Regions from separate parts of the Homo sapiens genome. Here regions 2, 3, 4 and 5 are each linked to region 1. The links are contacts of gene promoters, found by promoter capture Hi-C in blood cells and fetal thymus (Javierre and others, 2016). All regions are on one chromosome and are shown on one strand. Each heading gives the region's core, a stretch centred on a gene start or on the middle of the fragment in contact. The rest is flanking DNA. Distances are from core to core; before and after follow the strand shown.

The links. The method cuts DNA at HindIII sites, captures the fragments that hold promoters and counts their contacts. A CHiCAGO score of 5 or more calls a contact.
Region 2: a contact is called between a fragment that was not itself captured here and the fragment with the promoter of ATL2 in region 1, in 1 of 17 cell types (monocytes). The highest score is 6.6, in monocytes.
Region 3: a contact is called between the fragment with the promoter of HEATR5B here and the fragment with the promoter of ATL2 in region 1, in 9 of 17 cell types (activated CD4 T cells, non-activated CD4 T cells, naive CD8 T cells and 6 more). The highest score is 12.5, in activated CD4 T cells.
Region 4: a contact is called between the fragment with the promoter of CEBPZ here and the fragment with the promoter of ATL2 in region 1, in 1 of 17 cell types (monocytes). The highest score is 5.5, in monocytes.
Region 5: the fragment with the promoter of EIF2AK2 here is called in contact with the fragment with the promoter of ATL2 in region 1 in 1 of 17 cell types (monocytes); the score reaches 7.2 in monocytes.

Annotation. Positions count from the first base shown.
Region 1 is chr2:38,374,351-38,379,717 of GRCh38, reverse strand. ATL2 (atlastin GTPase 2) reads left to right here and starts at 2,445. Exons shown (of 13, transcript NM_001135673.4): 1 at 2,445-2,575. The coding sequence starts at 2,458. RefSeq lists silencers at 2,026-2,075, 2,146-2,305, 2,526-3,025 and enhancers at 2,276-2,525, 2,352-2,851, 2,852-3,353. The HindIII fragment of the contact is 2,426 bases long and covers 1,433-3,858 here.
Region 2 is chr2:37,338,343-37,343,879 of GRCh38, reverse strand. LOC124907754 (a long non-coding RNA gene) reads left to right here. Exons shown (of 2, transcript XR_007086284.1): 1 at 1-153; 2 at 3,153-4,464. Among named protein-coding and RNA genes, the nearest start is that of QPCT, 3.5 kb to the left of the region's middle. The HindIII fragment of the contact is 2,579 bases long and covers 1,276-3,854 here.
Region 3 is chr2:37,080,465-37,086,466 of GRCh38, reverse strand. HEATR5B (HEAT repeat containing 5B) reads left to right here and starts at 2,095. Exons shown (of 36, transcript NM_019024.3): 1 at 2,095-2,198; 2 at 3,031-3,178. The coding sequence starts at 3,053. GPATCH11 (G-patch domain containing 11) reads right to left here and starts at 1,949. Exons shown (of 9, transcript NM_174931.4): 1 at 1,897-1,949. RefSeq lists enhancers at 1,858-2,017, 2,488-2,587. The HindIII fragment of the contact is 3,413 bases long and covers 1-2,975 here.
Region 4 is chr2:37,228,722-37,234,351 of GRCh38, reverse strand. CEBPZ (CCAAT enhancer binding protein zeta) reads left to right here and starts at 2,756. Exons shown (of 16, transcript NM_005760.3): 1 at 2,756-2,940; 2 at 5,316-5,630. The coding sequence starts at 2,785. It overlaps NDUFAF7 (NADH:ubiquinone oxidoreductase complex assembly factor 7), which reads right to left and starts at 2,694. Exons shown (of 10, transcript NM_144736.5): 1 at 2,592-2,694; 2 at 2,086-2,246. The coding sequence starts at 2,646. RefSeq lists enhancers at 2,805-3,254, 2,212-3,411. The HindIII fragment of the contact is 13,102 bases long and covers 1-5,456 here.
Region 5 is chr2:37,155,130-37,161,239 of GRCh38, reverse strand. EIF2AK2 (eukaryotic translation initiation factor 2 alpha kinase 2) reads left to right here and starts at 4,260. Exons shown (of 17, transcript NM_001135651.3): 1 at 4,260-4,332. RefSeq lists silencers at 3,961-4,150, 4,351-4,470 and an enhancer at 4,201-4,330. The HindIII fragment of the contact is 2,417 bases long and covers 2,674-5,090 here.

The DNA.
Region 1 (5,367 bases), core at 1,196-3,695:
GCCTATTTTTTTTTTTTTTTGAGATGGAGTCTCACGCTGTCATCCAGGCTGGAGTGCAATGGCACGATCTCAGCTCACGGCAACCTCCACCTCCCAGGTTCAAGTGATTCTCCCACCTCAGCCTCCCGAGTAGCTGGGATTACAGGCACCCGCCATCATGCCAAGTTAATTTTGGTATTTTTGTGGAGATGGGGTTTCACCATGTTGGCCAGGCTAGTCTTGAACTGCTGACCTCAGGTGATCGCCCCACCTCGGCCTCCCAAAGTGCTGGGATTACAGGCATGAGCCACCACACCCAGCCTTTTTTTTTTTTTTTTAAATAAGCGTTTGACCTCTCTTGATTCAGGCATAGTAACCACAGATGGGGGAGAGAGTGGGTTTGGGAGCCAAGATAGGCAGAACACCAAAAAGAGAAGAACATAGGCAAGGAAAAAAAAAAGAAAAGAAAAGAGAAAAGCAAAGCAAAACACGAAACACATGGGGTAGCAGCCTAGATTAGTAGATAGAATTGAAGTCCTTAAAATCGAAGGCACAGTGAGGGAAACCATAAGGTCTTTTATTACATGTAAGATATTCAATATCTTCCAAAGGACTGCCTATACTAAGCATAGAGGGTGATTTGGCTTAGGTGAACACTGCACTTTGGTAAGGATTCAGGTAGCTTTTTGTTGTCACTGACTGTATCAACCTTAATTTAGCAAATGGCCTATGCTGTGCTGTTTGTAAATGGTTTCTTTTTTCTATGTGCCTAAGCAAATGTTTTTTAGTGAGTAAATGACAGTAAATAAATCTTTGTAGAACAATCCTCGTGAAGATTTTTTTGCCCTTCTTCTCCTCCTCCTCCTCCTTCTTCTGCTTCTGCTTCTTCTTTTTCTTCCTTTTCAATACTACGTTTTTCAGGCCAATGATAAAACAGAAAATGTCTTGACAAAGTGAGCTCTCCAAATCATATATCACAAGGACGTAAGAGGAATATCACTTAACAAGTTGATAAAGATCCTGCCATCAATATGAACGAGGGGGAAGGGTAACTGTACTTTAGATTGTGGAGGTGGTTCAAGTCCCAGAACTAGAATCTTAGTAACTCAAAGAATATTGCCAAGAACACGTATATAGTTATTCTCCTAGATTTATGTGACAATGATGACAAACTCCATATTCTGTTGAAATATATTTGGATGGGCCGGGCGCAGTGGCTCACGCCTGTAATCCCAGCACTTTGGGAGGCTGAGGCGGGTGGATCACGAGGTCAGTAGCTCAAGACCAGCCTGGCCAAGATGGTGAAATCCCGTGTCTATAAAAATACAAAAATTAGCAGGGTGTGGTGGCGGGGGACTGTAATCCCAGCTACTCCGGAGGCTGAGGCAGAGAATTGCTTGAACCCGGGAGGCGTGAGCCACCATGCCCTACCTAGAATGGTATTTTGAAAGCTTTAATAACACCAGTGCTTTTCTAGAGATTGTGCATGCTGTGAATTTTAGACTTATGAAAAGACCTGGACAAAACAGCTGTTTGTACACCCGGACATCTGTTTTTACTGGAGAAGAGGAATTTCTAATGCAGCTGGCAGTATGGTAAAAATCCAAAGGGATCATGTTTCACAGACGCCTCCACGGGCTGACTTGTAATTTAAAAAGTGACCTGAACTTTCTACTGGATGTCACTGGATCCCCAGAAGAAGGTTCATCACAATTAGGTAAGAACCTGCCACGATTCATTTTCCGATTAGAGTGCTTTCTGGCATGCCTCTGCAAGGTGCTAGGAGCACAGGGCCAGGGTATACACAGTTGAGAAGATGGGGGAAGGTCTCATAAGTAGATGGGGAGCGAATGCAAACAAACCTTAGGATGGTGGGGGGGAGGGGAAGCAACAGTAGGGACTTGGGTGAGGAAAGAAAAGATCAAGAGGAAAAGCAGGGCACTGGCAACAACTTGGGGGGTGGATGGGGAGAGAGGAGGGGAATGGCTGTGATGAGGAGGGGGCGATGAAAAGGAGAGAAGGGGTGCGAAAGCCACCTCACGTGCAGGACGCACGAATCAACGATTAGAGATGTAAAGCGAATTGGGAGGGAGGGACTTAGTTCTCTGGAGCTCCCTTCTGCGTTTGCAGAGCCTGGCCCAGCGCTAAGGGGGTGTGGTGCTGAGCTCAGGGAGGTGGGGGTGTGAGACGGCGGCGGCAGGGACACCCCCGCCCCAGTCCAACCAGAAACTTGGAGCCGGGGAGACGGATCTGCAGGCGGGCAGGGCGAGGGCGGAGCGAGCGAGCGATGGGCGGGGCGGGGGCGGAGGGAGGGCGAGGAGATACAGGCGGAGGGCGAGGAGATACAGGCGGAGGGCGAGGAGATACAGGCGGAGAGCGGCGCTAGGACCCGCCGGCCACCCCGCCGGCTCCCGGGAGGTTGATAAAGCGGCGGCGGCGTTTGACGTCAGTGGGGAGTTAATTTTAAATCGGTACAAGATGGCGGAGGGGGACGAGGCAGCGCGAGGGCAGCAACCGCACCAGGGGCTGTGGCGCCGGCGACGGACCAGCGACCCAAGCGCCGCGGTTAACCACGTCTCGTCCACGACCTCCCTAGGTACGGGCCAGCGAGGCAGAGGCCGCGGGGCCCTGATGGGGAGAGACGCTCGCTGCTCGGGCTCGCGGGCACCGGCCGCAGGCGGCGGGGTCGGAGTCCGCGGCTGGTTCAGGTCTCCTCCCGCCGCCGCGCCTGCCCGCCGGGCCTAGCCTCAGCCGCGCCCCGCGCTCCCGCAGCGCGCGGCCTGAAAGGGCGGCTCGTGGGCCGCGGCTCCAGTAGCTGCTGGGAGAACCAGTGGCGCGCGCGTCTGCGACCGGCCCGGCCCCCTGCCCGCCAGCCCGCCGCGTGGCTGCCGCCGTGTCCGCCCCGACCTTAGGGGGCGGCCTTGAGCCGTGGCCGCCTGCCCGGGGCGCGGGGAGGTCGGCTGCGGCTCCGCTCCGTCCGGCGAGCTCCGGACGCGGCGGGGCGACCCGTTAGCTGGTGGGCGTTCGCTGTCCCTTACGCGGACAGGGAGGAAGGGGTGGCCAGGGCATGATGGGCCCCGCGGAGGAGGAGGTCGCGCGGGGAGCAGACACCTTGCTGCCGGGTCCGAAAGCTCCTTAGACACCCTTCCTGGAGGGAACCGCAGTCCGCAGGCCAGGGCTCTGTCCCCGGGCTCGCGTTTCGGGGCTCCTCGGCTCCCGAACCCATTCGCGCGGGTTGTGCGTGGCTAGGGTGCAAGTCTAGATTTTCGTGTCAAACTGGGGTTATGAGCCGTTTACGAGTCACTTGGACGATAGTAAGGCCTGATCACTCTGAAAGTGTCTGTAGTGTGAAGTCACCTGATCCTTGGCTCCCTGGTTTTGCTGAATGTGAGCTCCTACTGTACGTGTACCAGGAGCGCCCCTGCCCCCTCGAAGACGCAGTTGCGTTGGCAGCGCAGTGTATCCCTCTCACTCATAACACCCCTATTTATAGGAGTTTAGCGTTTGATCTCTCACTGTGGTGCGAATTGATCGCATGAAATCCTGATTGAAAATTTTGATGGTACTTAAGAAAGGCATAAAGTTTTTTCAAAGGCTTATAAATAGTAAAAGCCTACGATTTGGTAAGTACGGCCAAGATAAGAGTTTATTATTAAATACAGATACGAGCTCGTGTCTTAAGATTTCTTTTTTTACGGTGTGTAAAGGTTTTGCTGGATAAAATGTAAAGCATTTTGGTATGATGTTAACCACAAGGACTCACTTTAATAGGAAAGTTTATTTGAAATATACTTCATCATTCCTGGTAGTTCTTGGCGCATGTCAGAGGTGATGACAGACTGGAGTTTTGCTAAGGGAAGAAGAAAAGGAAATAAAGCTTATTTTATTATTGTCTGCCAACCAAAACGCTTGACTGTTTGTACAGTGGTAGCACTCTGTAGAATAAAAAACTACCAAAGAAGCAGCTTCGCCTTAGATGTGTGCTGGTTGGATTTCTTAAGTAATTAATTGTTTTGGAATGCGGATGGATTAATTTCGCTCTTTTGGTTGGACCCTAGGGGAAGAAGTGTGTGTTCTTTTCTTTCTTTCTCTTTCTTTCTTTCCTTTTTTTGAGGTAAGAGTTTTAGATGCAGTTTCAAAATATTCTATGTATTTACCTTATTAGAAGAAACATAAATTTATACTTCAGTTATGGTTGTGAACGTTGTTGTGCTGTGGTATCTTGAGAAGAGATGATACTCTTCAGATTGTTGTTGAAATAGGGCCCACCATTTATTATTTAATAAATGCTTTTGTCTGCTACTCATAGGTTTTTGTCCTTTGTTTTTTAGGACGGATCAGCAAGACCTTCACTTGATAGCCATTCCTAGCAAATGATTGCCTAAAACAGTCCCTGTACCTGCTAATTTGCTCCGAGTCACTCATTAATGAGTTAAAAACTAAATGAGCTTGGTAGGATTTGTGTTTAAAGTGAGAAGAAACAGACTGAATGAAAAGGACTCATCTATTTTTGACTGTGTAGAAACTCTTTGTCTCCCTCTGCTTCCTGGAGAAATAGCTTCAAAAACCAAGTTGGGGTCAAGTGTCACTTGAGTAGTTTAGTGTTAGGGAGAGGCTTTGTGTTTATTCTTTTAGGAATGTAGGATCTTTAGAAAGCAAATAAGTACTCATTTTATTGGCTTTTTAAGTTGATAGGATTCTGTAGATATGATTAAATCTATTTAGTAAAGTGTTTTGAAATTCTTCGAAATTATTTAGGGAGAAGTAGCTGCCTTACAGTAAAGATATTATAGGGAAAAGAAACCCTGAGTGAAAATAAGATTATGGCCTTAAGTCGAGTGCACATAGGTGTATTTCAGGATTCGTTTTTCTGTGACTGTATTGTAACTTTAAAGTTTTGGAATATTCACAAGTATAAGTAACTTTCTTGAAATTGTTAGACCTTTTCCAAAATTAGGCTTTTTCCACAGTTGGTATTAGGCAGCTAGCTGCTAAGAGTACGGGGAGACTGATTAACTAGTTTGATAATGCTGGATGGAGTTCAACATATATTTTTTAAATTTTGGGACTTCATAGCAAGATGTATTAAAAAATTGTTGATGGTCATTTGGAAGACCTGTTTGACACACACAATTGTCAGCAAAGCTGTTTGTCAGGCCCTTAAAAAGTTAAGAGCCAGAAATGTAAGGCATAGGAGTAGAAGTTAAACTTTTTGGTAATGGTGGTTTAGAGCTTTACAGCGCAAAGATTTTCTCCAGATAGGTGCAGGGAAGCAGCTTTCTTCTTTTCTTTCTTGTTTTTAACGTGTAATGGTATTCTGATTTTGTAGACATTTTGGGTTTTCAAAGTCCAGGTGTATTATTTACTTTCTAGAAAATTTGAGAGTTA
Region 2 (5,537 bases), core at 1,316-3,815, 1.0 Mb after region 1:
CAGGACAGTGACTTTCACCAGCCTCTTTTGCTTCCACAGTGAGGATCAGGGCTTGGCCTGCTCTGAGTCATCTCCCAGTAACATCTAGTTCCCAGAAAAATCAGAACAAGGATACTGAAGCAGAACCATTTCACAGAGAGCAAAGATTTGAAGGTAAGGAAGCTGCCAGAAGGCCCACCCACTCACTCTGTCTTCCCAGCCTTGGCTATGAGTTTTTAAAGAGAGGGCTTGCCTGGAAATACACTGTTCTGCCCTCCTCTGGAGCTGTAGGAGAAGACAGGATGTAAATAACTCCTTTCCTGGTGTACAGATTTGCTAACCCTATTCATGTCTGAGAGTTTTGAGTGACAATTTAAATCTCCAGGCTTAAATAAAATTAAATACACCTTTATTAAACCCACAGACAGTTCTGATCATCGGACCCCCTTCAGAACTTTCTACTGGCTCCAGTTTCAGAACTAAACCACTGTCACATTCCCCAATACAGCTCCTCTCTTGCTGCCTGGGTCAACCTTGAAATAGTGCATTTCCTGAGTGGCTGGGTAATAAAGAGCCTATTTGCTTTTTTTTACCCTATTACCTTTATGTCTTTTCACAATATGGTTCCTATAAGAAAGAGAACGTGGAAATAGCAAACCTAAATGAAACAAAATGTGAGAGGTACTATCATGCTAAGTATGAGCAATTCAAAACAAGAAATATAGAAATAAGCTAAAATGTCAGCACATAACGTAATGATGATTTTGTTTCCTAAGTTTCTCCAATTTTGGTTATATTTAAGTCAATAAGATGTTCTTACAGTTTGGTATCTACAGGAAGCAGACTCTGAGACAAGAGTTTAACATGCAGGATGTGTATTAGGGAGTGCCCTTGGGACAAACCCCTGTGGGAGGAAGAAGGGGAACAGGAGAGAACAGAGGGAGAAGTTAGCAGCAAAGCGGGCCCAACAACCTCACCCAACTCCATGGGAGTCCTGAAGCTGAAAAAGACGGTCAAAGTTGTCCCATACTGGGCCAAAATGTCTGGGGCCTTATCTCTGCACCTCCATGGAGTGATTTCCTGCAAGCGGCTTTCCAGCCAAAAGAGCTTGACTGCTAGAGGCTGTGGGCCAGCCGGCCTCCAACAGCTGGAGCAGGGTCCTTCCCTGGGGGCAGATCTGGGCAGCGCATCTCCTGTATCCACCACAAACGTATTGTATCTGGTACAAATCTAAAACATTCCACATAGCTAGTGAGACTGATTTCAATACATTGGTTTTTTTTTTACATGTAAGCTTTTCTGCCAACTTTCCAAGAATCTACAAATCCAACACCACTATGTATGTATCACTTCATTCCTTATGCATATCTTTTCTAGTGTCTTACACACTAAATACCCTTTTCCTTTCCTTCGCTCATTCTTTTCTCTCTTCCTTCATTTGGGAAACGTTTAGAAATACCTTATATCTGCTATTTTTGCCCTACTTCAACTTTTCCTTTCTTCAAACTCTTCCCATGGAAGATAACTAATGACTTTTCCATTTTAATTAAAGTTTCAGACCCTGTTTTTCATCATGGAAAAAATGTGTTGTATATACAGTGATAACACTGTTCTCAAGTGGAGAAATTTTTACCTCCATTATAGTATAGATTCCATACTGTGATGTGAAGGAAATGAAGGACCCAATTGCCAAAACAGATCTTCTCCATGAAGCTGCCATGGCAGGATGTTCCTACACCCAGTCCCACCTTTAAAGTGGCGCCATTAGATCAAAGTAGTAATGACCAGAAGGTTCTATTAAAACAATAGTTTTCAAAAGTGTGGTCCATGGATACTGGGGATTCCCCAAGACCCTCTTGGCTGTCTCCAAAGTCAAATCAACTTTTATAATAATACCAAAACAAGATTCATTTTTTCTACTGTATAGACTTTGCACTGATGTTGCAAAAGCAATGATGGGTAAAAATGCTGGCACCTTAGCAACTGTCAATACAGGACACAAAACTGTACTATTGAGGAGGAAAATCTATACTTGTAGTCATTGTGTTTTTCTTTCTTTCTTTCTTTTTGGAAGGAGTTTCACTCTTATTTCCCAGGCTAGAGTGCCATGGTGCCATCTCGGCTCACTACAACCTCTGCCTCCCAGGTTCAAGCGATTCTCCTATCTCAGCCTCCTGAGGAGATGGGATTACAGGCATGCACCACCATACCCTGCTAATTTTTGTATTTTTAGTAGAGACAGGGTTTCACCATGTTGGTCAGACTGGTCTCGAACTCCTGACCTCAGGTGATCTACCTGCCTCGGCCTCCCAAAGTGCTGGGATTGCAGACGTAAGCCACCATACCCAGCCATCTTAGTATTTTTCACTGCCACGCATAAAGAAAAAAAAAAAGAAGAGGACGATAAAAGAAAAGAAAAAGAGCCAGTTTCACTTAAGAATGTCATTGATGAAGTAATAAAATTGTTGTTTTACTGCCTTCTGAAGCTGTCTCTCCATGAAGCTAGATTTTAAATCTAGCAGGACAGAGTACAGGAGGAGAGAGAGCTCCTCACGTCTGCGTTTTCATCTCATGGAGACCACCAGCTCTGTGTGGACTCCTCCTACCTGCACTGCATCCTGGAAACTCTCAAAGCAGTAAGCTGGAGAAAACATCAGGCTCATCTCATTTCATTTTCCCTTTTCTCACCACTTTCCTGTGATACCTCTTTTCCAATATTTAAGCATCATTTTAAAAATTTTTATACACTTAGAGAGTACAGGAGCAGTTTTGGTACATGGATATACTGCATAGTGGACAAGTCTGGGCTTTTAGTGTAAGCATCACCTGAAAACATAGTATACATTTACCCATCAGGTAATTTCTCATCCCTCCTACCCTCCCACCCTTCCAAGTCTCCAATGTCTATTATTCAGCTCTTCATGTCATTGTGTACACATTATTTAGCTTCCACTTATAAGTGAGAACATGTGCTAGTTGAGCTGTTTCACTAAAGATAATGGCCTCCAGTTCCATCCATGTTGTTACAAAAGACAAAATTTTGTTATTTTTAATTGCTGGTAGTATTCCAGGGTGTGTGTGTGTGTGTGCGTGTGTGTGTGTGTGTGTGTGTGTGTGTGTGTGACGTTTTCTTTATCCAATCCATTGTGAATGTCATTTTTAATATATTTTAGGTGGGATGACAAATCCAGTTCCATCTTAACTGGAAGCACAAATTGAGAGTATGCAGCTCTTTATACTCACATGGGAAAATAAGACGTAGAAATCAAACACTTCTGCTGCACACCAAAGGGCAATTGTCTCAAAGAAAAGCATTTGTACCGTTGTTTCAGAAGTATAGTGGGCCGCAGTGGCTCACATCTGTAATCCCAACATTTTGGGAGGACAAAGCAGGTGGATCACTTGAGGTTAGGAGTTCAAGACCAGCCTGGCCAACAGGATAAAACCCCCATCTCTACTAAAAATACAAAAATTAGCTGGGAATGGTGGCAGGTGCCTGTAGTCACAGCTACTCCAGAGACTGAGGAAGGAGAATCACTTGAACCTGGGAAACAGAGTTTGCAGTGAGCAGAGATCACACCACTGCACTCCAGCCTGTGTGACAGAGAGAGACAGTCTCAAAAAAAGAAAAAGAGAGAGAGAGAGAAGCATAGTGAACTTGCTACTTTTTTCATGAAATTCCAATTTAATTGAAAGAACAATGACTGATAAATTATGATTATTCAGACTTGGATATTTGGCAGACATTTGAAGATGAATAAAGTGCGCCTATCCCTTGAAGGAAAATAACTGACACTGTTTGTTGCCAGTGATAAAACTGGATCTTTGCAGTAAAAATTGGAATTTTGGATAACTTGTATCTGCTACCATAAGCTTGATAGTTTCCTGATATGCAACAACTTTTATGACAAAATTGGTGATTTTAACAAATGTGATTATTTATTATATATAATGAAATGCTCAACATTTGGAATATCTGCATAACTCAGTGAAGCAATATTTTCCAAATGTTCAATTCATCATGTTACAAAGTCACAAAGAAAAGTTCCACTCAAAGTATAAGAGACACCCAGTGGATTTTAATGTAATGGAATAAAAACATGTATTTAGAAGCAGATTTTAAGTTGTACCTTTTATGACACTATCATTTGTTATGTTTTGATTTAATAATGAAGGAGATTATCCACAGTTATCTGAAGAGGCTATTAAAATACTCTTCCTTTTTCCTACTACATGTCCGTGTGGGGTCAAATTTTCTTCATGTACTTCAGCCAAAATAATATATCACAACAGGTGGAATGCATAAGCAAATATGGGAATCCAGTTGTCATCTAAAAAGTCAGAAATTAAAGAGATTTTTTTAAATGCCAATCTTCTCACTAAACTCTTTTTACTTTGGAAAATGTATTTTTTCATAAAACATGTGTCTTTAGATGCAATGACTTTATTCTTTTAAAATAAATCCATAATTAAGTATTTGTAAAATGCCTGTTCTAATTTTCAATACAATAAATATTGATAGACATGGTCCACATAAATGAAAGCTATTTGTGGTCCTCAATTACTGTTACTAATGCAAGGAGTTCTGAGACCAAAACATTAGAGAATCACTATGTTAAAACCATTCTACTTGAGAGAGACAGATGATAATACATTAAACCAATGCTTACAACTGTAGCTACACATGGAAATTATCTAGAAAGCCTTTTTTAGAAAATGGTGATGTCTGACTTCCACCCCCAGAGATTCTGATATGATTAGCCTGGTGTGTGGTCTGGGCGTCAGATCGCTTAAAAGCTCCCCAGGTGATTCTAACGTGCAGCCACGGCTGAGAATCATTGCATGAAGTCACACACTTTGAGAAATACATCAGCAAAAATCATATAATCAGATTAACTATAACATTAATAGTCATGTTGCATTGTAGTTATTTCATAAGGCCCTGAGGATAATAGCAAAAAAGATTGGGAAAGTGGCCCAGCCTTAGACAAATTATGAAGTAGGCAGCTTAAATTCAAACCCCCCAACTTTCTGGCCCCATGCAAGTCTAGTACTGAAGCACCCTGCCTTTTGTTCCTTTAATAGTCACAGAATGTAAAGAGTCCTACATTATATTCTTGTTTGAATCTGTCCGCCACCTCTTTCGATAGCAGAGTGAAAAATTAAAATATTTGCCTCTGCAGTCCAGTGTCAGATTTTTAGTGTTCCTTAGAAATCTCAGGAATCCAGATTTCCTGTAAATATTCCCAACTTCTTTCACCAGATCAGAGGTCGGGTGAAGGTGGCAATAAAAGCTAGGAGAAAAAAAACGTTCCTCTTCTTTGGTTTTCTGGCCTTCTCACTTCCCAGTCCTATTAAATAACATGCGCTGTCCTCTCGAAGAAGGACAGAGGAACAGTCCCCATAAACCCTGATTCCTTTCACAAACACTAATTATGCCCCTCAAACAAAATTCCTTTTATCCATTTAATAATTTATCATACTTTTGATCAGTTTTTCTCTGAGAGCTCTGAAAACCAAAAGTGTTCAAGGTCCAAAGAAATGAATCTCTAGTAAGA
Region 3 (6,002 bases), core at 846-3,345, 1.3 Mb after region 1:
TATCTTGTGTTAAACACAAAGACAAGTCCCCTATATCCTCCCTACCTACCACTGCATCCCAAACACAAATGCTTAATAATTGTTTAGCAACAATGAGGATAAAAAGGGTCTTTAATATTTGTAATTTTATAACTTTTTCCTATGTCAACAAGTCATTTTTAAACACTTTTTAAATACGTACAGAAAACACATAAAACAAATGTACAGCTTAATACATTTCTGTGAGTCAAACATTCTTGTAACCATGTGGTACCCTCCAAAATGACTCCCAGTCATTCTTGCTGTGTGGTTTTCTACATCCTTAGTGTAGTCTCCTTCCACAGTGAACAGGATTAACCTGTGTAACCAACAGGATTTTGTGGAGATGATGGAGTTGATTTTTTGGTCATAACTGCAGCTCTTAGGTCATTCTAACTTTGAAGTTAGATGACTCACTTGAAGGAAGTCAGTGGTCACATAATAAGGATACTCAAGAAGCTCTATGGAGAAGGTCACACGATTGGAACTGAGTCCTCCTATTAAAAGCCAGCACAAACTCATGAGCCACAGGAGTGAGCTACCTTGGAAATGGATTCTCTTGCTCCAGTCAGGCCTTCAAATGACTCAGCCTGGGCTGGCATCTTCACTGCAACTTCTTAAGAAAGTCCATGCTAAACTAAGCTAAGCTGCTAACAAATTCCTGACCCATAGAAACTGTGAGATAACAAATGATTACAGTTATCTTAAGCTGCTACATTTGGGGATAATTTGTTATGTAGCAAAAGTTATCAGGAAGTAGAACCTTATCAGGCACCTGGGAGCCCTCTTTGTCCCCTATCCAGTTGCAACTCTCTTTTGGTTCTAAGAATAGTCACTATTCTGTTTTTTATGGCAATCATTTCCTTCATTTTCTCGATAGTTTTGTCATCCACGTGTGCATCTTTAAACATTACAGTTTAGTTTACCTATTTTTATTATAAGTTAAAAACGTGCACTATTATATACAGCATTTATGGTAATTCACCCGCTTCCTCTAAACCTCAGATTCTTCATTGGTAATAACAGCATTTTTACACATAATGGTTTAACACTTACCCAGTATATCACACATTTTTATCACATTTAACCACCACTAACAACTCTACAAGGTAGGAAGAGTTTTTCCTGTTGGAGAAATTAAGGTTCAGTATGGCTAAATGACTATTTCAAAACCACAAAGAATCCGGGTCATAGTGCCTTGCAAATAGGATTACATTGTTTTTAAGAGACCTACTTAACTTTAAAGTGCCAGGCACATCTGAATGGGGTTACAGGTTGCTTTTAAAGCTCTCTTTCTATTGGTAAAATATACTTTAGCATTATCCATTTCCATCAAAGATAAGCATAAACTTCACAAGGCGATACCCTGGCAGAGATGATGGAGGCTCGTACCAGAGTGATAGCAATGCAAGTGGTCGCATTTGGGGTACACTTGAAGGTAGAGCTTACAGGATTTGCTGATGTTGTAGGTAGTACGTAAAGAACGATGTCAAGATAACGCTAAGTTTTTGGCCTGAATACATGGAAGAACGGAGTTAACGTTTTTTGAGAGTGGGAAGACTGTAGGAGTAGGTTTGTTTTTGTTTTTTTAGGGGGCGTAGTCGGGAAACAGACATATTGAGAGTCCCATTACATATACAAGTGGAGAAATGGACCTACAGTATAAATGTGACAAGAAACGTCCCACTCTCAATACTACGCTCAGGAACCGCTGATCCCTTCCCTCACGCGTTCCTCCTGGCTGCAAGCGTCCCACAGACGCAACCACCCACGGATGGAAAAGTGGCTGACGGTGTGATACGGTAGTCATGGCCAGCGCACTCTGCCTTTTATCATTCTACCGGTTGTCCCCAGACCCTTACCTGACAGCTCTCTTACCTGACAGCTCTCTGCTCGCCCCGGTTCAGCGCCGTAGAGCGCGCGCTGCGCATGCGCCCACCGACCAGCGTCGGACTTCCGGACCTCGGCTCCCACCAGTTTCCTAGTGCAGACTCTATTGGAAATTCGCGGCGGGTGGGGATAGGAGGACGTGGTGACTGCGCTTGCGCAAGACCAGCCCTCCGCGCAAGCGCTCTTCCCTTGTTTCCTGCAGGTAGGAGTGCGGGAGGTGGGGCATCCGGGTCTCTTGGTGGCTGCTTCTACCCCCGGAGCTCAGCTGATCTTCCCTTCCAGACTACGAGGTGAGGTCGCCGAAGCATGCATGTTGACACGCACGGACTCCTGTCCGACGTACATTTTCAGACGGGTGGGGAAGACATTTGAGTTCGTAATGAACATTTTCCCTTTTCTGGCTCCGTGCTTAGTTCCGAGCTGCCGCCTCGTGCTATTGACAGCCTGCGGAACCCCACGGAGGCTTGCGGCGGCCTCTTGGTGTTTCCCCGGGTCCGCCGCTTGCGGTTCTTGGAGTAGCCAGGTGAAGCCAGACCCCGAGCGCGCGAGGCTTCTCGGGTGCATTCCGGACCGCCTGGTGTTGTCACTGACGCTTCGGCCGCCGGGCCTGGCCGCCCCACCCATCCGCGTAGGAAGAGTCTTGGAGACCTGCAGTTCGGGATGTCTGTGCTGGGTGTTTTGACCTCAGTCCCTCTGGCCAGGTGCAGCGCGGGAGGGTAAAGGTGCTATGTACCGAACCCTGGACGAGAAAAAGAGGAGGATGGTTGTCAAGCCCGGCTGGGGTGTTTGATCTTAGTGCTTCAGTTTTTTCATTTATAGAACGGGTAAATGACATATGTGTTGCTGGACATATTTCTTCTGGAATAATGCCTTTTTTGGCAATAATTTCTTTTAATTTTCTTTTCACTCCATGAGTCACTCTTCCTTACCAAGTAGTTTTCTTCTGTTTTTGTTTGTATTTTTGTCATTTAAAAGTATGTTCTCAGGTTTTGCCTCAAAGAAGTTGAGTTTTTCCCCAAATGAAATGAGTAGTCCTACTTTTCTTAGTGAGTATATTCCATTAAGCTTGACTTTTAACATTAAAAAATACTTACAAGTATTTTTTACTCTGTTAAATTTAAGGTGTGAATTTCAAACTTCCGTAATGGAGTTAGCCCACAGTTTATTGCTAAATGAAGAAGCTTTGGCTCAAATCACCGAAGCAAAAAGACCAGTTTTCATCTTTGAATGGTTGCGATTTCTTGATAAAGTCTTGGTTGCTGCCAACAAGGTATGGTATTGCTCTTTTTTCCCAGTTGCATTAACGTGAAGAGATTATGTGGTCATGATTCTTAAGAAAACACATGTTATGTTTTGGAAGGTTTATGGGTCACTTATGGAACTTGAGAGTATTACACGAATGGGAAATTTAGTGGCAAAACTCAAACCTCGTTTAAATCCAGCTCATTGCCTATCTTCTTTATGTTTGTACCTGGGCAGCTCATTGTAACTGGAGAAAAACATGGCTATATGACTGGTGTCACTTTAAATTTATCATCGTCACCCGTTGCAAGTGATCTCTCTATGCTGCCTAACAATCCCAGTGTCTTCACTTATCTCTTTGAGGAGTCAATAATAGGCTCTTTTTTTTTTTTAATCTGTTTTTTCTTCCTGCATAGCCTTGATTTGCCGAGACCAGCTCGTTTGGGGAGACCCTAACCTAGCGGCGCTAGAGGAATTAAAGACACACACAGAAATATAGAGGTGTAAAGTGGGAAATCAGGGGTCTCACAGGCTTCAGAGCTGAGACCCCGGAACAGAGATTTACTCAAGTGTCTATTAACAGCAAGCCAGCCATTAACATTGTTTCTACAGATATTCGATTAGCTAAAAGTATCCCTTATGGGAAACGAAGGGGTATGCTGAAACAAAGGGGTGGGTCTGGCTAGTTCTGTGCAGCAGGAACATGCCCTTAAGGCGCAGATCGCTCATGGTATTGTTTGTGGTTTAAGAGCGCCTTTAAGCGGTTTTCAGGCCAGGTGTTCCTTGCCCTCATTCGGGTTTCGTTATGGCCATCATGAACATGTCACAGTGCTGCAGAGATTTTATTTATGGCCAGTTTTGGAGCCAGTTCCCAACATTGATTCAACTTACTTTTTATTGTCTGTGTATTTTATATTCTGTCTTTAAAAGTAGATATGGCCCGGCATGGTGGTTCACGCCTGTAATCCCAGCACGTTGGGAAGCTGAGGTGGGTGGATCACCTGAGGTCAGGAGTTCCAGACTAGCCTGGCCAACATGGTGAAACCCCGTTTCTACTAAACACTGCTAAAAGTACGAAAATTAGCCAGGCGTGGTCGTGGGCGCCTGTAATCCCAGCTACTGGGGAGGCTGAGGCAGGAGAATCGCTTGAGCCGGAAAGGCAGAGGTTGCAAGGAGCCGAGATCGCACTAATGCACTCCAGCCCGGGGGACAAGAGTGAAACTCCATCTGAAAAAAAAAAAAAAAAAAAAAAAAAAAAAAAAAAGTAGATACTTCCCTCAAATGTCTGATGATCTTTGGCTGCCTGATCAAATTTAAAAGTGAGTAGTAAAAACTTTTCTCAGCAGGGCCAGTCTTTTAAACTGGACTTCACTGTAGGCTAGTTTGGTCCCTGACCTTAGTATTTTAGGTTTCTGTAGGCTAGTCATTCCCCAGAAGATACTTTTCTACTGTCGTGTCTGAAGAGTATATAGCTAGCTGGCTACATTCTTGGAGTTGTGGGAGAAGACTGGGGACTTTAAAGTTCAGTATGTGAACTTTCACTGCATCTCCCCATTTTCAGTGCAGTTTTCCCAGACCGCAACTGTGCCTGGACTCTTCTAGTCTGGACATACAATATTTCACTCTTCCCAGAGAATAAACTTTCAGTCTGCTTCCATAATGAAGAAGAGGATTCTTTCTGCTTATTAGACTCTCAACCATTCCCTCTATCTCAAGGTACATACAACTTCACTCCCACCTCCAAAAGCACCTAGGGCTTAAAAAAACCGTGATCTCTTAGGGGGTCCTGTGTTGTAAGTTAGGTCATTTTGCAGCTTTCCCTGTTGGGAACAGTTGGTTTCCAAATACTGTGTTGATTCTTTCTCCTGTTTTCTTTACCCTTTGGATTTGTGCTTTGTTGTTATTGTTCCTGTTGTTGTTGCTACCCTTTAGTATGGTTTTAATGGAATTTCTATAGAAACAGTCAATGCATGACCTAATGTAAATGACGAGTTAATGGGTGCAGCACACCAACATGGCACATGTATACATATGTAGCAAACCTGCACATTGTGCACATGTACCCTAGAACTTGAAGTATAAAAAAAAAACAATGCATGGATTCACTTGTAATTGTCAACTAGACGTTTCTGTTTTCTCTTAAATCCTCTACAACTGGGGATTTACTTCCACTCCACTGAAACAGCACTTGTCCAGCCATTACTGATGACAGATTGCCCAGAACAGTGGTCAGTATTCTGTCTTATTTGATCCATCTCCATCTTTTCACCTTGAAACACTTAAAACGTCTTTAATTTTGTTCTGAAATTGATAAATACAAGAGTGTATAAAACAGGAAGCATAATATGAATATCTGTACACCCTCCACCCAAATTAAACAATAAGATTGTTATCATTGCTTTGCACAGTTTGTGTGAAGTTTTCTTCCTGTTCGTGGCTTCCCAAGACGCTGTTAGGTTTTGGTTCCTCTCCCACTTCACTAACTACTACTTCTTGTTCTTTTTTAACTCTTCCTCAGTTCAGGGCATTTTTTTTTTTTTAATCTGTACATATTCCTTCAGTGATATCATCTAATTGTATGATTTTTACTATCATCTATAAAATAATGATTCCCAGGATAATGTTTACTCCACCTCTTTCTTATCTAAGTGGCATCTCAGAGTTAACATACCCAAACCAAATTCTTGATTTCTCCTCCCAAACCTGCCCTTTCCCCCATGTTCTCTATCTCAGGAAATGACCATTTCATCCTTCTAGTTGCTCAAGGGAAAACCATAGAGTCATTTTTGACTTCCCTCTTTTTCTCAAATTTCATGTTGTATTCACCAGCAAATCCTATGGTTTCATCCACA
Region 4 (5,630 bases), core at 1,507-4,006, 1.1 Mb after region 1:
AGGAGGCTGAGACAGGCGGATCATATGAGGCCAGGAGTTCAAGACCAGCCTGGCCAACAAGGCAAAACCCGATCTCCATTGAAAATACAAAAAACCTAGCTGGGCATGGAAACATACACCTGTAATCCCAACTACTCGGGAGGCTGAGGCACAAGAATCCTTTGAACCTTGAAGGTGGAGGTTGCAGTGAGCCAAGATTGCACTACTGCACTCCAGCCTGGGTGACAGAATGAGACTCTATCTCAAAAAGCCAACAAACAAAAAAGCCCATAATCAAGCCAAAGACCCAATAATTAACAAAATTTTGAAGTAAGGATGAGCACGATGAAATCCTGAGATGCCTGTGATCACTGTATTGTGATAAGGAAATACCAATGATTTCCACAGATGACAAAGTCACAGGTATTGCTGATGCTACTAGTTGCTGCGTATGTTCATAATTGAAGAAATGCTAAATTTCAGTTGAAAGTTAGTGAAAATAAAGGTATAATATTTTTTCCATCCAGCTTCATGAAACCCCTGATTTCTATTAAAGGGTCCCTAGGTTAAGAGCCTCTACATTTTAGAGTTACCCCTACTCTCAATGCTGGGAAACCTTCCTTTCTCTCAGTATGTTCTCCCTGGTTCCTTGGCTTTAAATATGACCTATATGCTGATGACGAGCAAATGTATATATGCCTGCCCAGTCTTTCTTCTGAACACCAGGCTCACTTTTTTTTTTTTTTTTTTTGAGACAGAGTCTCGCTCTGTTGCCCAGGCTGGAGTGCAATGGCGAAATCTAGGCTCACTGCAACCTCTGCGTCCCGGGTTCAAGCGATTCTCCTGCCTCCTGACTAGCTGGGATTACAGGCACAAGCCACCACGCCCGGCTAATTTTTGTATTTTTAATAGAGACGGGGTTTCACCAAGTTGGTCAGGCTGGTCTCAAACTCCTGACCTCGTGATCCACCCGCCTTGGCCTCCCAAAGTGCTGGGATTACAGGCGTGAGCCGCCACGTCCGGCCCTGAACGCCAGACTCTTACAGCGAATTGCCTACTTTCTATCTCCACCTGCATGTCACTGCTAACAAAATATGTATAAAATGCAGCTCCTGGTGTAGGCCCTCTCCCTAGTACTCCTCCAAACCTGGTCCTGTCTGTCTTAATCTCAATAAAAGGTACCATCATCACCCAACTGCTCAAGCTAAAAGTACGAATCAGCCTTGATTCCTCCGTTCCATCACTCAATCCATCGGCAAATCCTGTCAGTCCCTTTCTAAATCACCCTCTTCTATTTCTAGTACCACCACACTAGTCTAAGCCACCTATCTTGCAGCCCTGCCTAACCGGCATCGAAAGAAAGATACCGGCCTTGGGTAAACCTCGACACTAGAGTCACACTACCATATCCAACAACAATGGCCAATCTAACCCCAGAATTCCACAGAGGTCATATTTCAACCCAGCAAAAGATGAAATATTCTAAAATAAAGGACTATAGGCTTTCACCAAATGGCTCTGTAGAACAGACAAGGAAACGTGGGTCAGAAAGCTGTGACTGTGCCTAATCCTAGAACAGTGAAGACGACCCAGACTGCATTCTCAACTGCACATGTGAGAAAACCCAGCACATGTCTCCAATGCCAGCTGAAGCCATTCCAACACAGACGACTTTCCAGGCAGTAATTCCTATTTCCAGCTGCCTGTTGGAGATTTCTACCTAAGAGTCCCACACACTTCAAATTCATATACCAGCCTGAACTCTCCATCCTTCCTCCCGTATTCCTTCTCCCAAAGCAATGAATCCACACCACCCACCATCAGCCAAGTAGGAAAGTCATCCTTCCCGCATCATAAATCCAATCAGCTACATTCTGTCTCCTAAACACCCTTGGACCGTGTCCTCTCCTCTTTACTGGCACTGCCTCTGACGTGAGCCAGCCCTGACCAACTGACAAATTATCTGTCCCCAGGTCCTCAGAAATGGCTCTTCCCCTGGCAGGCACCCCCACTGCCTGGGCTGAGAACCTTCGGGCTTCTCCCTCCTGGCTTGCACCTCGCAAATCGGCTAGAGAGGGCCTAGTCCTCGGGCTACCCGACCCATACCTTGGCTGGATTAGTCAACACCTCCTTCATGTACTCGGCCACAGTGATGGGACCAGTAGACTTTATTTTGTACATAAGATGCCGCAGCATCGGCGTCACCGGGTTTTCTGCAGGCTCATTCCCGGAGCTGAAGTATTTCCCTCTCCAAATAAAAGGAATGGCTGCGAAAAACACAAATTAAACAGACCCCATGATAAATCTGACCATTCACGAGCGCAAGCCGCCTGAGCGTTTTCAAAACAGCTTCGTGAACCCTTAACCTCGCCCCACCGCAGACCGCGGGCTACTGTGCTTAGCACGCCCACGGGGCGCAGAGACAGCACCCACTTGCCCACGACTACGCAGCCCTATTGCGTTTGTACCGGACCCGTTTCCAGCCCAGGGTACCTTCAAGGTGGAAGTGAGCCCCCGAGCCCTTGATCCCCCGGTACCCTCAACTGAAGAGCTGAGGAAGGCGCCCCACGCGGCTTCCACGGCAACCGGGCTTCGAGGGGACTGACGCTTACCTGCGCGCGCCACGGCACACAACGGCCCCAAACCTGACCTCAGCAGTACACTCATGCTGAAATTCGCAGGCTAGCTCGCTCCGCCAGGAGCTGGGGCTTAGACCATTTCCGGGAGAAGACACGCCCCGACAGGAATTACGCCACTGGCAGAGCGGAAATAGGCTGAGTTTCACGCGCGTATGCTTTGCCCGCCATGGCCGCAGTCAAGGAGCCTTTGGAGTTCCATGCCAAGCGGCCTTGGCGCCCCGAGGAGGCAGTAGAAGATCCGGACGAGGAGGATGAGGATAATACTAGTGAAGCCGAGAATGGGTTCTCCCTGGAGGAAGTGTTACGGCTCGGAGGCACCAAGGTAACGGCCGCGGGCTCCGGGGAACGGGATCAGGCGTGGAGAGTTCCGAAGGTGGCTAGGCTGACTGCCCCGCCGCTTCCGCGCTGCGTAGAGCGCGGGCGTCCAGGACCGAGATCCCAGCCTCTGAAGCATGTGTTCGGTGCGCTTCCCACGCCGGTTTCCACTGCTGTTTACAAAAGAAAAGTTTCGAATTGAACGTTGTATTCTCTGGCTATTCTTAGGATGTAGGCGATCTTCTGATTTTATTGACGTGGTATAACCATCACACCATCAGGTCGGAGAGTGGCTTTTCTTGGTCCTGACCTTGTGGTATGAGTGTTTTGAACACCAGTGGTATTGGAATTTTCATTTCTGTTCTCATAGAGTACATGCACGTGTCACTGTATGCCCCAGAAGCCCTCTTTTTTGGAGCATCCTAATTAAGGGAGAGAAACAGTAAACAAACTTTTAAACACATAGTACAGCAGACGCGGGGTAGTGCTATAAAAGAAAATAAAACAAGGAAGGACGATAAGGAGTGGGAGCGCGTTAGTATTAAATGAGATGATCGACAAACACATCACGGAAATGTTTGAGCAGAATCCTAAAGGACAGGAAGGAGTGAGCTGCCATTCCAGTCAGTTGGAACAGCAAATGCAAAGACAGGCAGAAGAGTGCCTAACCTATTCCATGAGCAGCCAAAATGCCAGTGTAGCAGAGGCAGAGTGAGTTAAGGGGAGAATAGTAAGAAAGGAGGGCCGAGGGGTCAGAGGGCAGGCTTTTGCTCTGAGTTTGATGCAAAACCACTGGAAGATTTTAAGCAGATAAGGAACAGAAATTAACTTTGTTTTTAATATTATTTTGTTTGGAGACTGGACTTTCAAGGTGGAGGAGTTAGTTAGAGATAGGCAGATTCACAGTTTGCTCTGTGCTTGTGTATATTTAAGTTTTGAATAGGTAATATATACACATGAAACACGTGGTGCAAACTTTAAAAGATACATAGTGAAGTCAAATTGTTTCCACTTTTATCTCAGCCATAACCATTGCCCTGATAGGAAGCAATTATTTTTACAACTGCATTTTATATCTTTCAGGGATACTATATACCTTTTCAAGCATATACATACTCATTTATGTGTATGAAATACGGGTGTATCTTTTTTACATAAATGGTACCATATATATACACCTATCTCTACATTTTGCTTTCTTTTCTGTCTTAGAAATCCTTCTATATCAGTGCATAACGTTCTGTGTCATTGCTATGGCTGCATAAATCATTTTGTCTGTCTTAATTTATCTAACCAGCCATTTATTGTGAATATTTAAATTATTGCCAGTCTTTCACTATTTTAAATAATACTACAGTTAATAACCTTAATCGTGTTTTTCCCCCACTTTTGTAAGTGTATATGTAGTATAAATTTGTAGAAATGAGCCAGGCACAGTGGCTCACACCCATAATCCCAGCACTTTGGGAGTCAGAGGTGGGAGGATACCTTGAGTCCAGGAGTTTGAGACCAGCCTGGGCAACATAAGGAGACCTCATCTCAAAAAAAAATTTTTTTTTTAAATAGCTGGGCGTGTAGTGCCAGCTACAGGCTGAGGTTGGAGGATCACTTCAGCCTGGGAGGTTGAGGCTGCAGTTCAGCCATGGTCATGCCACTGTACTCAAGCCTGGACAACAGAGCGAGACCATGTCTCAATCAGTTAGTTAATTTTTAGAAATGAAGCTGCTGGGCCAACAGATGTGTGCCTTGTATTAAATAGTTGTGATTGGAGTTGACAAATTGTCCTCCATGGAGGTTGTGTCAGTTTACACTCACATCAACCATGTATGAAAGTGCCGTTTCCGCCACCCCTTCCCCAGCATCACCTGTCATTGTATCTTGCTCATCTTGCAGTGTATCTTTGCTCATCTGATAAATTAAAAGATGGATGTATCATTGTGGTTTTAATGTGGATTTGTCTAAACCTCAGTGAGGTTGAACATCTTTTCATATTCTTAAAGAACCCTTTTTTTCTATGAACTGTTCATGTCCTTTGCACATTTTTCTTTTGGGTTGTCACTTACTGATGTGTAGAAACTTATATTAAGGGATTAAACCCAATTACTTTGATAGGAATTGCTTGTATTTTTTTTCCAGTTTATAATTTATATTTTTTTCCTATATCGAAATAAAAAGTGTGTGTGCGTGTGTGTGTGTGTAAAAGAAAGAGAGAGAAAGAGAAATTTACTTATCCTTTCCTTTGTGGACCCTGAGTTTTATGTCAAATTTGAAAGGATTTTTCCAGTTCCGAAATTATTTTTAAAATTATGTTGTGTTTCCTATTATTTTATGGTTTTATTTTTCACATTTGTAATGTATTTTTAACTTATGTTTTTAATGCAGCAAGATTACCTTATGCTGGCTACTTTGGATGAGAATGAGGAAGTGATAGATGGAGGCAAAAAAGGAGCAATCGATGACCTTCAGCAAGGTGAATTGGAAGCATTTATTCAAAATCTTAATTTGGCGAAGTATACAAAAGCTTCCTTAGTTGAAGAAGATGAACCAGCTGAAAAAGAAAATTCCAGCAAAAAAGAAGTAAAAATACCTAAAATAAATAATAAAAATACAGCAGAAAGTCAAAGGACATCAGTTAATAAGGTGAAAAATAAGAATAGGCCAGAACCACATTCTGATGAGAATGGCAGTACCACACCG
Region 5 (6,110 bases), core at 3,011-5,510, 1.2 Mb after region 1:
TCTTTTTTTTTTTTTTTTTTTTTGAGACAGTCTCTCTCTGTCGCCCAGGCTGGAGTGCAGTGGCATGATCTCAGCTCACTGCAACCTATGCCTCCCAGGTTCAAGCAATTCTCCTGCCTCAGCCTCTGGAGTAGCTGGAACTATAGGCATGCACCACCATGCCCAGCTAATTTTTGTATTTTCAGTAGAGACAAGGTTTTGCCATGTTGGCTAGGCTGGTCTCGAACTCCTGGCGTCCAGTGATCCACCCACCTCGGCCTCCCAAAGTGGTGGAATTACAGCCGTGAGCCACCACGCCCGGCCTTCTTTCTGTATTCTGCATGATGAAAGGGACAAGGCAGATCTCTGGGGCCTCTTTTATAAGAGCACCAGTTCCACCACCCAAAGGCCACACCTCCTAATACCATCACATTGGTGATTCGCTTTTAACTTATGAGTTTTAGGGAGGACACAAACATTCAGACCATAGCGATGATTTTATAATAATGTGCATGTGGGGACTATTGACAAGAAGAGTTTATAAGTAAGCAAGACAAATTACTAAAGCAGAAACATCTGAGGAAAAGAGCCACAAGAGATATGGTACAACATAAATATGGACCACTCTACAATTTCCAAAAGCAGGAATAACAGTTATTATTTTTCCTCTGCTAGTAAAAAGAGAATTAAGAATAATTGATACATACGATTCTTCTATCTGTGTCTGATTCGTTGCTTTAGCATTACACATTTTGATCTAAAAGTCACTGTATTAAAAGAGATAGACTTATGGGATTGACTATAGGTCAATAACCATACTGATATTCACAAAGAGTTACGTAGTAAGGCCTGAGAAGCCCATGTGGATAAACTCACACATATCCTCCATTCCTGCTGTCACAGCCTCTTTATTTGTTGAAACAAGCACAGGGATAGCTGGGGAAAAGGCTAACAGAAGTCTTCTTGCTCAACTGCTTCTCAAAAGCCTCTTTAGAAGTGGTTGCCTTTGGTGAACATTCAAAAGGGAGCCCAATATGCACACTCTGCCCATTCGAAGTGGTTCAAGCACATCATTTCCCTAGACCTCATCATCAGCCCTCTGATATCATTCCTTCCAACTCTCTGAACATCAGCTGCATTGCCAGCCACTGGCTCTGTATAAGCCACTGAAGGAGGGGACTTTGGATCTTCTTGGGGTCCATGGTTAGGAAGTAAGTGACTAGGTTGCATAAGATGAATCTACTCCAATATTCCTGACTCCCTAAGTATTTTTGATTTCTTCATCTGCATTACTTGGCATTACATTTACATTTAGTGTGAGCTGCCACTGAGCTGATATTATAGTAAACCAACTGGGCAAACTGGCTTAGCGCTCCCACTGCTAGAGGCAGTACATCAACTTTCTTTCTTTTTTTTTTTTTTTTCTTGCTCTGTTGCCAGGCTGGAGTGCAGTGGCACGATCTTGGCTCATTGCAACCCCGACTCCCTGGTTCAAGCGATTCTCCTGCCTCAGCCTCCCAAGTAGCTGGGATTACAGGCACATGCCACCACGCCCAGCTAATTTTTGTATTTTTAGTAGAGACGTGGTTTCACCATGTTGGCCAGGATGGTCTCAATCTCCTGACCTCATGATCCGCCCACCTCGGCCTCCCAAAGTGCTGGGATTACAAGCATGAGCCACCGCGCTCAGCCTCAACTTTCAGCTTTCTTCACGTCATCTTTAGACTCATTGCCATGTCTATTTCTTGCTTTCTGTTGCTCTTTTGTTGTGTAAAGCATCACCCCTCCATCAGATCTTGTCCATATCCTCTTGGGGCGCATTAGCATCTGATTCTAGTTCTAGGAGTGAAGGCACAGGTAGAGATAGGATATTTGGAGAATCAGCACCTCCTTGCAGGGTGACTGTTTCATGCTTTTTAATGTAGGCTGTACCAGCCTTATCAGACAATGGTGGGAAGCCTGTGGAGACACAGCAGAATTTAGGAGGGCAGTGGCACTTGGATTCATTCAAATCCACCCAAATTCCCAGGGCTTCTTTCTTTCACAATCAATGCCCTCAGTGTTCACAGAAGAGACCTGATGAGGCTGCAAATGAAAATTTTTGTTGTAATTCTAGGCTGGGCGCGGTGGATCACGCCTGTAATCTCAGTACTTTGGAAGGCCGAGGTGGGGGAATCACTTGAGGTTAGGAGTTCCAAACCAGGCTGGCCAATATGGTGAAACCCCTTCTCTACTAAAAATACAAAAATTAGCTAGGTGCGGTGGCACACGCCTGTAATCCCAGTTACTTGGCAGGCTGAGGCAGGGAAATTGCTTGAGCCCGGGAGCCAGAGGTTGTAGTGAGCCAAGATTGTGCCACTGCACTCCAGCCTCGGCAACACAGCAAGACTCTGTCTCAAAACAATTATATTGTAATTCTGGTGCCTGCAGCACCAAGCTTTGCAGCTGAGAGCCCAGACAGTAGGGAATTGGGCTCCTCAGGGAGTCCAATATGCTCACACTTTACCCATTCCAAGAGGTTCACCCATATCATATCATTCCCCTGGACCTCATCACCAACCCTCTGATATCATTCCTTCCAAATCTTTCCCCAGCAGAGAAGGCAGATTTTTACATCACCCCTGAGGCTCCCTGAAATAGGAGGGTTTTCTGGTACAGTCATAAAAGCGTGTGTCCTCTGATCATGCTTAAGCTTGCCATTTTTCATTCTTTAAGCTCTCTTGGGCAGTTCAGGGGCTCAAAAAGTCAGAAAAACTTGTCCTTGCTACTGCCATTGCTGCTGCCACAGCCATCCCACACCCACAAAGCTGACAAATGGACACACAGCACTGTCAGAGTTTTCTTGTCACCTGGAAATGCCACAAAAAGATGGCTCTGCCTCATGTCTACCTTCTAAACCTCCCGCCAGTGCTTTACATATAGGGGACTTAAGCTATGCCCAGGACCAGAGCTACAAGGAAAGTGTAGATTTTAGTTGTTGATACCCTGCAATGTGGGGTTGTTGGGGGATGGAGAAGGGAGGCTGGAGAGGATGCCTGCCTAGGTGTAATTTTTTTTTTTTTTTTTTGAATTGGAGTCCCACTCTGTCACCCAGGCTGGAGTGTAGTGGCATGATCTCAGCTCACTACAATCTCTGCCTCCCAGGTTCAAGCAATTCTCCCTGCCTCAGCCTCTGGAGTAGCTGGGATTACAGGTGCCTGCCACCACGCCCAGCTAATTTTTGTGTTTTTTAGTAGAGACGGGGTTTTGCCATGTTGGCCAGGCTGGTCCTGAACTCCTGACCTCAGGTGATCCGCCCGTCTCAGCCTCCCAAATTTCTGGGATTACAGGCATGAGCCACCGCGCCGGCCTAGGCATAATATTTAATGTATATTTGAGGTCTGTCTTTGGACCACCTTCCTCTCTTATCCCAGCTAAGATACTGAGAGTACAAACTCCTGGTTATAATTCTAACTCCGCTGCTTACTACCTGTGTTAATCCAAATTCTCTGTGCCTCAATACTCATTAGTCACTGTGCCAATGAACTCTGGAACTCTGTGTGACTCTGGGAGTGTGTCGCAGTCCATCAGGTGAGTAGAATTTCTATAAATCGAGGACTACTGGTGTTGGACTATGGTAGGAAGCTCCCTGGGGTACTGTAGGAAGCAGGTGTCTCTATTTAGCAGCAGGACTGGCCCACAGGTGCTTTTACAGCGGCTGGCAAGTGTCTGCTCATGAATGAATGGATGGGTGGGAGCGGAGTGAAGGAGATTACGCCCCCAGGCCTCTGATCCCCAGGCTTGTAAAGGTGAGGGGGCCGCGGTGTGGCAAGAGGGAAAGAGTGCTTTGGTGTTTACAGGCCCCGACTTGAACTGAATCCTGGCTTTGCCACTTACGAGCGGCAGGACCCCTGGGTGAGTTCATTTACTCAGTTTCCTCTATTGTAGAATGGAGCTGGTAAGATCCATCTTCCCAACCCCACCCCAAATATTTGTGTTGAGAGTAAGTGGAACCCTTGATTCGAGAACCTAGTGCGGCCAGCGGACTAGGCCAGCGGAGAACCCTAGGAGCCCCGGGGGCGGGGGATGGGGGTGCAGGGTCCTGGCCGTGCAGGGGCAGCACGTGGGTGCCAAGCCCGCCTGCCGGTGCCAAGCCCGCCCGCCGGTGCCAAGCCCGCCCGCCAGTGCCTCTCGCGCGCACTCTGGATCCAGCGCCAATTTACCCCAATCCCGTAGCAGACGAGGGCTTGTGCGAGAGGGGGCCGGGCGGCTGCAGGGAAGGCGGAGTCCAAGGGGAAAACGAAACTGAGAACCAGCTCTCCCGAAGCCGCGGGTCTCCGGCCGGCGGCGGCGGCGGCGGCGGCGGCGGCGCAGGTGAGCAGGGCAGGGGGCAGCCGAGGGAGCGCGGGGAGCGGGGGCCGGGGGGCCACGTACGAGGGGCTGCAGGCCCAGCCGGGGCGGGACTCGCCAATCCTGCGTCCCCAGCTCAGGACGCGGACGCTGATCCGAAGCCCCTGGCCCCGGCTGGGTCAGCACTGGGAGAGCAGGCCCAGGTCCGCAGCCCGGGTGTGGGGCCCTCCCCAAATCCAGGGAAAGGATCGTGGAGCGGGGTGGGGACTGAAAGCCATTTCCTTCCCGTGAAGAATTTTTATCAGTGCAAGTAACAAATATTTCCCAGGCAGCAGTTGTGGGGCGGGGTCTAGTGGAAGACGAATAGGCCTAGTGGCTTGACACATGGAAAATACGGAGGCCTGAAATACTCATAGACTGGCTGAACAATCTTTGGCTAAAAATCTCTTCCGTGGAGAGTTGCAGTAGTTTCCCAATTGCCTGGCCGCAGTTCCTGTTCCCACTCCGTATCCTCACCCCTGAACCTCCACCCCCTACCTCTTCTCCACACCTCAGCATCTGGAATGTTCCTTTAAGTAAGAACCAGACTCTCCCCTGCTCCGACCTTCCCCGTAGCTTTCCTGTCTCATCAGAATCCTATAAACATTTATTAAGGCTCACAGGCAAGGCCCCTCGCACCCCCTACTCCGGCCACGCTGGCTTCCTTGCTGTTCCTGGTGCACAGCCAAGCATCCTCCAGCCTCTAGGCCTTTGCACTGCTTGTTTCTTCTTTCTGGAAAGCTTCTTCCCCAGATAACTGCATGGGGAAATCCCTCCCTTATCCTGCACTGCTTCCCATGCCAGCTTATCAGAGCAGCCTTCCTCAAACAACCTGCCTATACAAGAAACCCCGCTCTGCCCTTGCTGTTCCCCCTTCCACTACTTCGGTTGTCAACATAGTAGTTATCACCTGGTGACATTTTCTTTCTTTTCTTTTCTTTTTTTTTTTTTTTGAGACAGATTCTCACTCTGTCGCCAGGCTGGAATGCAGTGGCACGATCTGGGCTCACTGCAACCTCTGCCTCTCAGGTTCAAGCGATTTTCCTTCCTCAGCCTCCCAGGTAGCTGGGACTACAGGTGCCCGCCAGCACAGCCAACTAATTTTTTTATTTTTAGTAGAGACAGGGTTTCACCGTGTTGGCCAGGCTGTATGTAGTCTGCTGGAAAGGAAGTGGAGGCATAGCCAAAATAATTTCTGGGCATTAGTAAGATGGACAAATATTATTTTTTAGTGATTATGATGGAGGTTTCTTCCAGATGAGTGAATAAGATGTAGAATCTGCTCCCCAAAGAGCTCACTAATTAGTTTAAAAAGCAGTCAGGGCTGTGTTGAAGGTTGGGCAAGGTGGAGTGGCAAGCCCATACTAGCTGACCCTCCAGCATCAAAGAAGGCTGTGTTGATCCTGATAGATGAGTGGATATTGGTGGGTACAGAGAGAATGCAGATATTGCACTATAAATGTAGAGAAAAGCAGGTGACAAGTCCTGGATGGGGTATCTGGAGATATTTTGGTACTCACTCATTCATTATTGAGCCTGGTCCCTTACCTGTAGTAATTCATGCTCTATTTTGGAAAATAGTTAAATAAGCAATTTTAATAAAGGGGATGAGCACTGTGGAAGAGCCTGTGAAGGAGTGTCTGGGATTTTGAGCTGAAATCTGTAGGAAGTAGAAATTGACCAGGCCAAGACAGCAGAAGGAATAGAGTCAAGGGCATTTTAGGAGGGAGCAGGTTGGACAGAGGCAGTTGGGAGTTCAGGAG